Linked DNA regions of Homo sapiens: regions 2 and 3 are each linked to region 1. The links are contacts of gene promoters, found by promoter capture Hi-C in human tissues and cell types (Jung and others, 2019). All regions are on one chromosome and are shown on one strand. Each heading gives the region's core, a stretch centred on a gene start or on the middle of the fragment in contact. The rest is flanking DNA. Distances are from core to core; before and after follow the strand shown.

The links. Contacts are between HindIII fragments. The study calls those that stand out against the background at their distance.
Region 2: a fragment that was not itself captured here is called in contact with the fragment with the promoter of STRIP2 in region 1 in 1 of the 25 tissues and cell types used here (mesendoderm cells).
Region 3: a contact is called between a fragment that was not itself captured here and the fragment with the promoter of STRIP2 in region 1, in 1 of the 25 tissues and cell types used here (lymphoblastoid cells).

What each region holds. Positions count from the first base shown.
Region 1 is chr7:129,433,055-129,435,799 of GRCh38, reverse strand. STRIP2 (striatin interacting protein 2) reads right to left here and starts at 1,368. Exons shown (of 21, transcript NM_020704.3): 1 at 1,199-1,368. The coding sequence starts at 1,327. RefSeq lists a silencer at 1,009-1,488. The HindIII fragment of the contact is 3,182 bases long and covers 270-2,745 here.
Region 2 is chr7:129,859,447-129,862,191 of GRCh38, reverse strand. The region is part of intron 3 of UBE2H (ubiquitin conjugating enzyme E2 H); the gene reads left to right. Among named protein-coding and RNA genes, the nearest start is that of MIR183, 86 kb to the right of the region's middle. The HindIII fragment of the contact is 3,660 bases long and covers 1-2,745 here.
Region 3 is chr7:129,814,694-129,817,438 of GRCh38, reverse strand. No RefSeq gene overlaps it. Among named protein-coding and RNA genes, the nearest start is that of MIR183, 41 kb to the right of the region's middle. The HindIII fragment of the contact is 5,374 bases long and covers 1-2,745 here.

The DNA of each region.
Region 1 (2,745 bases), core at 119-2,618:
CTTGATGATGATGATGATGATGATGATAGCAATATACTAAGAGTTACTATGTACTGACTAATTACATGCATTGTGCCTGCACTGTGCCAAACATTTTATAGTCAATTATCTCATTTTGACTTTATCACAACCTTCTGAGGTAGGCAGTGTTAATCTCATCTTACAGATGAAGAAACTGGAGCTCAGAGAGGTTCCGTAATGTGCCGAAAATCACACAGGTAGTAAATGATAGGGCTAGGAGTCAAAACCTGGTCTGACTACTCCAAAGTCTGGTGTTCTTGACCACCAACTATGCCAGATGTCTGATCTTGGGCAAGTCACTCCTCTTTTTTTTAGGTCTGTAAAATGAAAGGGTTATACCAGATGATATCTGCAGACCCTGCCACATCTGATATTTTGTCGTCTATTCTGATCCCCGCTCAGATCCAACTGATGGGAACTGCCTCAATGAGGGGATAGGGAAGTGATAATAATTCAACGCTTTCATCTTCATAGATAGGGTTTCTTTTTTCAGGAGAGGAGGAAGAGATCGAAATATTCACACTCCTATCTGTATCCTGCGACTGCTCCCTCCAGATAGCCACTCCAGGACTGCCCCTGCCTGAATCCCGTCTCGCTCAGCCCTCACAGGCAGGGGCCTGATGTCCGCGGAAGGCGCTCCCGAAACGGCCTAAGACTTACGGGGGGAAGGGGACGGGCAGGGAACGGGCAGAAGTCCCTCGGCTGGCCCAGGGGCCCGCCGCAGGCAGCCTGGGAGGGGGACTGCGGTTGCCCCACTCGCCAATCCTGCTTTCCTGCGGCTGAGCTCCAGCCTCCCACCCCTCAAGCCAGTCACTTAACCTCTCCGCTCCTGTTCCCCCGTCTATAAACTGGGATCGGAATTTCTGCTTCAGGGGGCTGCAGCGATTAAGTGAGATAAATATTTGGAAAGTATCTGGTCCGCTCAATACCGCGCTCATCTTCGCGCAGCGGGGGAAAGCCAGAGGGCTAGAAAGCCCCCAACCCGCGGCAGGAGACGGGCGGACACTGGTCCGGGCCAAAGAGCCCAGAGTTCAGCCGCTAGGACCCCGCAGGCGCCCACTGCGCGGGGCTGATCGAGCGCGCCGAGGGCTCCGGGGCCGAGGCCGAATCACCTCAGCCGCCGCTTCCCGCCGGCGGGCGTCTCCGGGCCCCAGCCGAAGCTTTCCGGGCTCCTCACCTCTGACTCCCGCCGCTGGCTTCGGAACGCTTCGCGGCCCTTGGGCGCCGCCTGCTTCCCTTTGCCGCCGCCGTTGCCATTGCCATTTGCGGGCGGGCCCCCGGTCCCAGGCGCGGCGGGGTCCTCCATGCTGCTGGTCAGCGGCTCCCCTCAGGGTTCAGCTCGCTTTGCCGGAGGCGACCCTACCGCCGCGCGCCGGGAGCCAGGCCCCGCCCCCTCCACCTCTATTGGTTACGGCAGCTCGCCGCAACCCCGCCCCGCGAGGCGATTGGCTGCTCGACCGGCCGGAGCGGGACTCGAGGAGGTGGGGGCTCAATGAAGAGATTTTTGAGGGGATCTTTTTAGTCCTGCGGCATTGCTGGCGGACGGAGACTCCTAGGTTAGCTACAGGCTCCACACCTCGCGAAAGCTGGGCCTTGAGATCAGGCGGGTTATCTCTGTGCTCCTCACTCGGTGTCTCTCAGCTCTCACCCCCGTCCCTGTAGCGACCTTTTCCGGAGCTCTAGTCTCCGCCTACTGCTCCACAGCAGTCTCCGTTTCCCTGTTACCACCGACCCGGCCCCCCATATCCCGGCTCCTGCACACGTCCCATATCCCGCTTAGTCTCAGGGGAGGGATGGCACCGCCAGGTGGCCAGGGACATCGCCCGAAACGAGGGACTCGCTGTCTCTGGAAGCTGAGAATTCTCAGCGTTTTTCTGAAGAGAACGCATCTCGCCCGGAGCTAGGGCTTGGCTGGGAGACTGGAGGTCTAAGGGTGGGATGGGGGAGTTTTTCCATCACTGAAATTGGTGGTGCCCTCGAGGGCTGCTCCTGTCATCTGCCCTTCTCTGCTGTAGGGGGCCTCTTCCTCATGGTGTGTAAATGTTGAGGGTAGAGCAAGCCCCCACCCTCACCTGCTCGCCAGTCCTTTCTTTCCTTCCTCTCTCTTAGATGCTTCCTAAGGGCTCATTGTTACTGGGGGCAAAAGAGGCTGTTTGATCTGCCCTCTCCTGAATTTAAAAAGTAGCTTGTAGTAAATATTTAGACAGTCTGGCTTGGTAATAGAAGCCCCAAAGACGTAGGCTCAGGGGAACAGGTGGGACCAAATCGCTGTCCCCAGCCTGGTTGCTTTAGGAAGGGTCTGGGGGATTGTTGAACTGAGCTTGGTGCCAGGCACTGCAGTAAGCGCTTTCCAAATATCACATCATACCTCTCCCCGACAGGGTGTTTTTACGAATCCAATGTTACTGATGAAGAAACCGGCACTTGCAGATTCCTCCCTGCGGTTTCCAAGGTATCATATTCTATCTTGTCTCAGGGTCTTGCCTATGCTGTTCTCTGGAGGAGACTGTCTTCTGTTCTCCTGGTTGATTCCTTTTCTCTCATAAAGATTCTAGTTAGTTGTCACCTCCTCCTCCTCCACAAAGCTTTCCTTTTAGCCCTCAACTCATTCAGGTTGTGTTGGTGTCAAACCAGTTCTGCCTAGATCCAAAATCCTAACATTTTCCACGATATACCCAAAGCAAAGGGCCTAGAGGAATTACTCCACCTTCCCATACCTTAGGG
Region 2 (2,745 bases), core at 176-2,675, 430 kb before region 1:
GCATTAAACCACATAGTGGCTCAGCATTGTTCCCCACTCATCAGAAAGCTTCCCTGCAGTAGTGATAGCAGCATACTCCTATATATAACTGATCTTGAGGACCACGTACCTTATAACCTGAGGTTCCTCTGATTTTAGGGGGAGGGTAATGAATTTGTATTATTTGAACAAGAGTGTTAAGATACGAGATTTCAAATAAAATGGTTGGTTTTACTGGCTTTTTCTTAAAATAGTTCAGCACTAGTTAATGCTTGTGTAATTCAGTCTATTTTAGAATGTTTGATACTATGTATAACTTTTTTTGGAAACGGAGTCTAGCTCTGGCTTCCAGGCTGGAGTGCAGTGGCATGATCTCGGCTCACTGCAGCCACCTCCCAGGTTCAAGCAATTCTCCTGCCTCAGCCTCCTGAGTAGCTGGGACTACAGGTGGGCGCCACATGCCCGGCTAATTTTTGTATTTTCGTTACAGATGGGGTTTCACCATGTTGGCCAGGCTGGTCTCAAACTCCTGACATCAAGTAATCCGTCCGTCTTAGCATCCCAAAGTGTTGGGATTACGGGCGAGAGCCACTGTGGCCAGCTGATACTATGATAACTTTTTATTTCGGAGTTTTTTTAAGCTCAACTATTAAAATTACACATTGTAGAAATGTCAGAGAGCCAAAAGTGCAAGTAGAAATAATGGGAGAATCTTGCAAACATGACAACCATCCACACCTGTTTTCTTCTAGCCTTTTCCCATTGCTGTGATCCTAGTTCTGGTTCAGGTGTGGTGAGGTGGTGATGAGATTTGAAAAGTGCAGCGGAGAAAATACTACCACCACTAAGAATTCTACACTGTTAACATTTGTACTTACTTTCAGTTTCTTATTTATGTGCATATGTTTTAAACAGAGCAAATAATATAGAAGCACATTGTCCCTTTTTAAAAGGAATATATTAATAGTGTTAAAGTCTTTTTTTTTTTTTAAAGACAGTCTCACTCCGTCACCCAGGCTGGAGTGCAGTGGCGTGATCTTGGCTCACTGCAAGCTCCGCCTCCTGGGTTCAAGTGATTCTCTACCTCGGTCTCCCGAGTAGCTGGGACTACAGGCACACGCCACCACACTCAGCTAATTTTTTATTTCTTTTTACTAGAGACAGGGTTTCACCATGTTGGCCAGGCTGGTCTTGAACTCCTGACCTCAGGTGATCCACCCACCTTGGCCTCCCAAAGTGCTGGGATTACATGCATGAGCCACCGTGCCTGGCCAGATAAAGTCATTTTTAACCACTGTTTCCTCTTCTGTTCCCTTTTCCTATCATGACCCTGGCCCTGTGCCCTAACTGAAACAATTACTTTTGCAAATTTGGTATATGTTGGTTCAGTACAGTTTTCCTATACTTGTTACCATGGAGAATTGGTAGTTGTTTGTTTTAGTTTATTTAAATAACCTCAGCCTGTAAATATAACATCCTGCAACTTAAAAAAAAAAAACAAAACTCAGCTTTAGATGTATACAAGTTGATACACATGGATCTACTTCATTACCCTTGGCTGTATAGGACTCAGGTAGATGGATGTACTCCCCTTTATCCAACCCTATCCCATTGACAGGGTTGAATTTGGCTGTTGGCTTTTATAAATAATATTGCAACAAATACTCTCATGGGGCATCTGGGACATGTGTATTAGTATTTTTCTAAAGTTAATGTAGAATGTTTTTTACCCTAATTTTTCTCCTCTTAATACCAAGACATGAACATTTCCCATTATTAAAATGTCTTCATAAACCACATGCTTCTTAAATCTAGACTTTGAAACATCTTTAATTTCCTTAATGAAAAATTAATATTGGACACAAAGATTTTTTTTCATCAGAGTAACTTAAACATCACATAGGCCCTCTTGATTGTAGTAGATAGAACATTATGCTGTTTCAACACAGAGCATTTAAAAACAAAAGTTAAAAGTGTGAGTGACTAGAGTGGTCTAAGACTGGACTACTTGGACTTGGTATTCTTATCCCCTGTTTTCTACTTCAGGGGAAGTTTCTCAGGTTTTTGGAGACAATCTCTGTAGCGCCTCACTTGAGGCTCCTCCTCCAGTGCCATTTCTCTGCATCTTTCCTGACTCTTCCCATTTTACTCCGCCTACTGTATCAATACTTTATTCAGATTGCAGGTATTTATTGGTGTCTCTTGTCCCACTGCCACAGTGACCTCCTCAAGAATAGTGAACTGTCTTATTTTTATACCCTATCCAAGCACAATGCCTGCGGTGTAGGTGCTGACCAAATATGTTCTGAATGAATATGAGAGAGAGAGACTGTGGGGATGGGGGTGATGGAGGATGGGGGTCGGAGATAGTGGTGGTGATACTCACCTTAATAAGGAACTTCAGATATTGAAAGTGTGGAACAGAATGAGTCCTAAAAGGAAATGAAGTGATAAGGATGACAAAATGACACCTTTGACAATGGATCTCTGCTTTAGAATATTGCCATTTGCATATATACTGACTGACTGAATAACTGGTTTTATTAATTTCTCCTTGAAGTTCAAATGGCCATATAGCTATTAAAGTGTGTACTTGGTTTGCTAGGAAAAATTTTAAAAACTTAAACCTCCAACAGATATAGCCAACTTAGAGTATTTTTTTTAACTCCTTGCTTGGTTGCCCCAATTTTAATCAAAACTGGGTTTCCCTGAATGAGTAGACTAATGTTAAAGGAAATATTTTGGTCACTGCTTTTAGGAAATCCT
Region 3 (2,745 bases), core at 179-2,678, 380 kb before region 1:
AAGAAAAAATGAAAAGGGAATACTATGAACAACCATAAGACAACAAATTAGACAACTTAGATGAAATTGAGAAATTACTGGAAAGACATAAAAACTAACAACTCAAGAAGAAATAAAATATCTGGATAGACCTATAACAAAAAGCTTGACTTAGTAGTTTGAAAACTGTCCACAAAGAAAAGCTCAGGCCAAACCAGTTTCACTGGTGAACTCTACCCAAAATTTAAAAAGGAAATAATGCCAAATTTTGACACTCTTACCAAAAGATAGAAGAGAAAGGAGCACTTTTCAACTCATTTTATGAGGCTAATAGTATTGTAATACCAAAATCAGACAAAGATATCATAGGAAAAGAGAACCACAGACCAATATCTCCTATGAATATAGATGGAAGAATCCTCAGTGAGATACTGGCAAACCAAAACCACTAACGTGTGAAATGTATTATACACCGTGACCAAGCAGGATTTATCGCAGGAATGCAAGGTTGGCTTAACATGTGAAAATCAATTAATGTAATACATTGTATTACTAGAATAAAGGACAAAACCCACATAATCATCTCAATAGATGCAGCAAAAGCATTTGACAGAGTTCAACACCCTTTAATGATAAAAACACCTGACAAACTAGGAATAGAAGGAAAATTTCTCAACCTGTAAAAAAGAACTCACAACTAGCATAATGCTTACTGGTGAAAGACTGAAATCTTTCCCCTACATCAGGAATGAGACAAGGATGTCTGCTCTTACTGCTTCCTTTATTTATTTATTATTTTTTTTTGAGACAGAGTTTTGCTCTTATTGCCCAGGATGGAATGCAATGGCTTGATCTCAGCTCACTGCAACCTCTGCCTCCCGGGTTCAAGTGATTCTTCTGCCTCAGGCTCCCTAGTAGCTGGGATCACAGGTGCCTGCCAGCACACCCAGCTAATTTTTCATATTTTTAGCAGAGACGGGGTTTCACCATGTTGGCCAGGCTGGTCTCAAACTCCTGACCTCAGGTGATCCACCCGCCTCAGCCTCCTAAAGTGCTGGGATTACAAGCGTGAGCCACCGCACCTGGCTGCTCTTATCACTTCTATCTAACATTGTGCTAGAGGTTCTAGCCAGGGAGGTTAAGCAAGATAATTAAATAAAAAGCATTCAAATTGGAAAGGAATAAATAAAATTGTCTCTATTTGCAGATCACAGTCTTGTATATAAAAAGTCCTAAGGAATAGACTGATTAAAAATCTGTTCGAATGGGCTGACGGAGTGGCTCACACCTGTAGTCCCAGCACTTTGGGAGGCCGAGTTGGGTGGATCACCTGAGGTCAGGAGGTCAGCTGTAATCCCAGCTACCCAGGAGGCTGAGGCAGGAGGAACATGGGAACCAGGGTTCAGGGTTCAGAGGCTGCAGTGAGCCGAGATTGAGCCACTGCACTCCAGCCTGGGCAACAGAGCAAGACTGTCTCAAAAAAAAAAAAAAGTTCTGTTAGAATGAAGAAGTTTAGCAAAGTTGCAGGATACAAGATCAATATACAAAAATCAATTGTCTTATTTCTACATCTTAGAAATGACCAAACCAAAAATAAAATTAAGGAAACAATTCTATTTTCTCTTTTGTTTTTCTTTTTCGTAGAGACAGGGTTTCTTTCTGTCACTCAGGCTGGAGTGCGGTTCATGGTCATAGCTCACTGTAATCTCAAACTCCTGGGCTCAACTGATCCTTCTGCCTCAGCCTCCCAAAGTGCTGGGATTACAGGTGTGAGCTGCTTTGTCTAGCTCAATTCCATTTTCAGTAACATGAAAAATAATAAAATACTTAGGAATAAATGTAACAAAAAAAGCAAAATATGACATTGAAACTGTAAAACATCATTGAAATAATGTAAAGACCTAAATAAATATTAATAAGATATTCCTTCTTCATCTGTTGGAAGACATCTGTTGGAGATCGCACCACTGCACTCCAGCCTGGGTGACAGAATGAGTCTCTGTCTCAAAAAATAAAAATAAAAATAAATAAATAAAATAAATAAAAAAGTAGCCGAGCATGGTGGCGCATGCCTGTAGACCCAGCTACTCAGGAGGCTGAGGTGGGAACATCACTTGAGCCCGGGAGGTCAAGGCTGCAGCGAGCCACGATCATGCTGCTGCACTCCAGCCTGGGTAACAGAGTGAGAGCCTTTCTCAATTTTTTTTTTTTGAAAAAAGTAACACATAGTGCTGGGACAACTGGCTATACATATGCAAACAAATGAAGTTGGATCCCTATCTCACATTGTATACAAAAATTAACCAAAAGTGAATCAGAGACCTAAATGCAAAAGCTAACACTATAAACTGTAGAACTTTTACAAGAAAACATAGTTGTAAATCTTTGTTGGATTAGGTAATGGGTTCTTAAATATGACACCAAAAGCATAAGCAACCACAGAAGAAATAGATAATTTGGAACTTCATCAAAATTAAAAACTATTGTTCTTTAAGGACAGTATCAAAAAGGTGAAAAGACGACCCAGAGAATGGGAGAGAATACTTGTAAATCACATACCTAAAATAGGGGCCTAGTATCCAGAAAATACAAACAACTAGTACAACTCAACAATAAAAGATAACATAATTTTTTAAATGGGCAAAATATCTGAAGAGACATTTCTCCAAAGAAGATATACAAATGGCCAATAAGCATATGAAAACATCCTCAATATCATTAGTCATTACAGAAATGCAAATCAAAACCACAATAATTAGTCAGTCA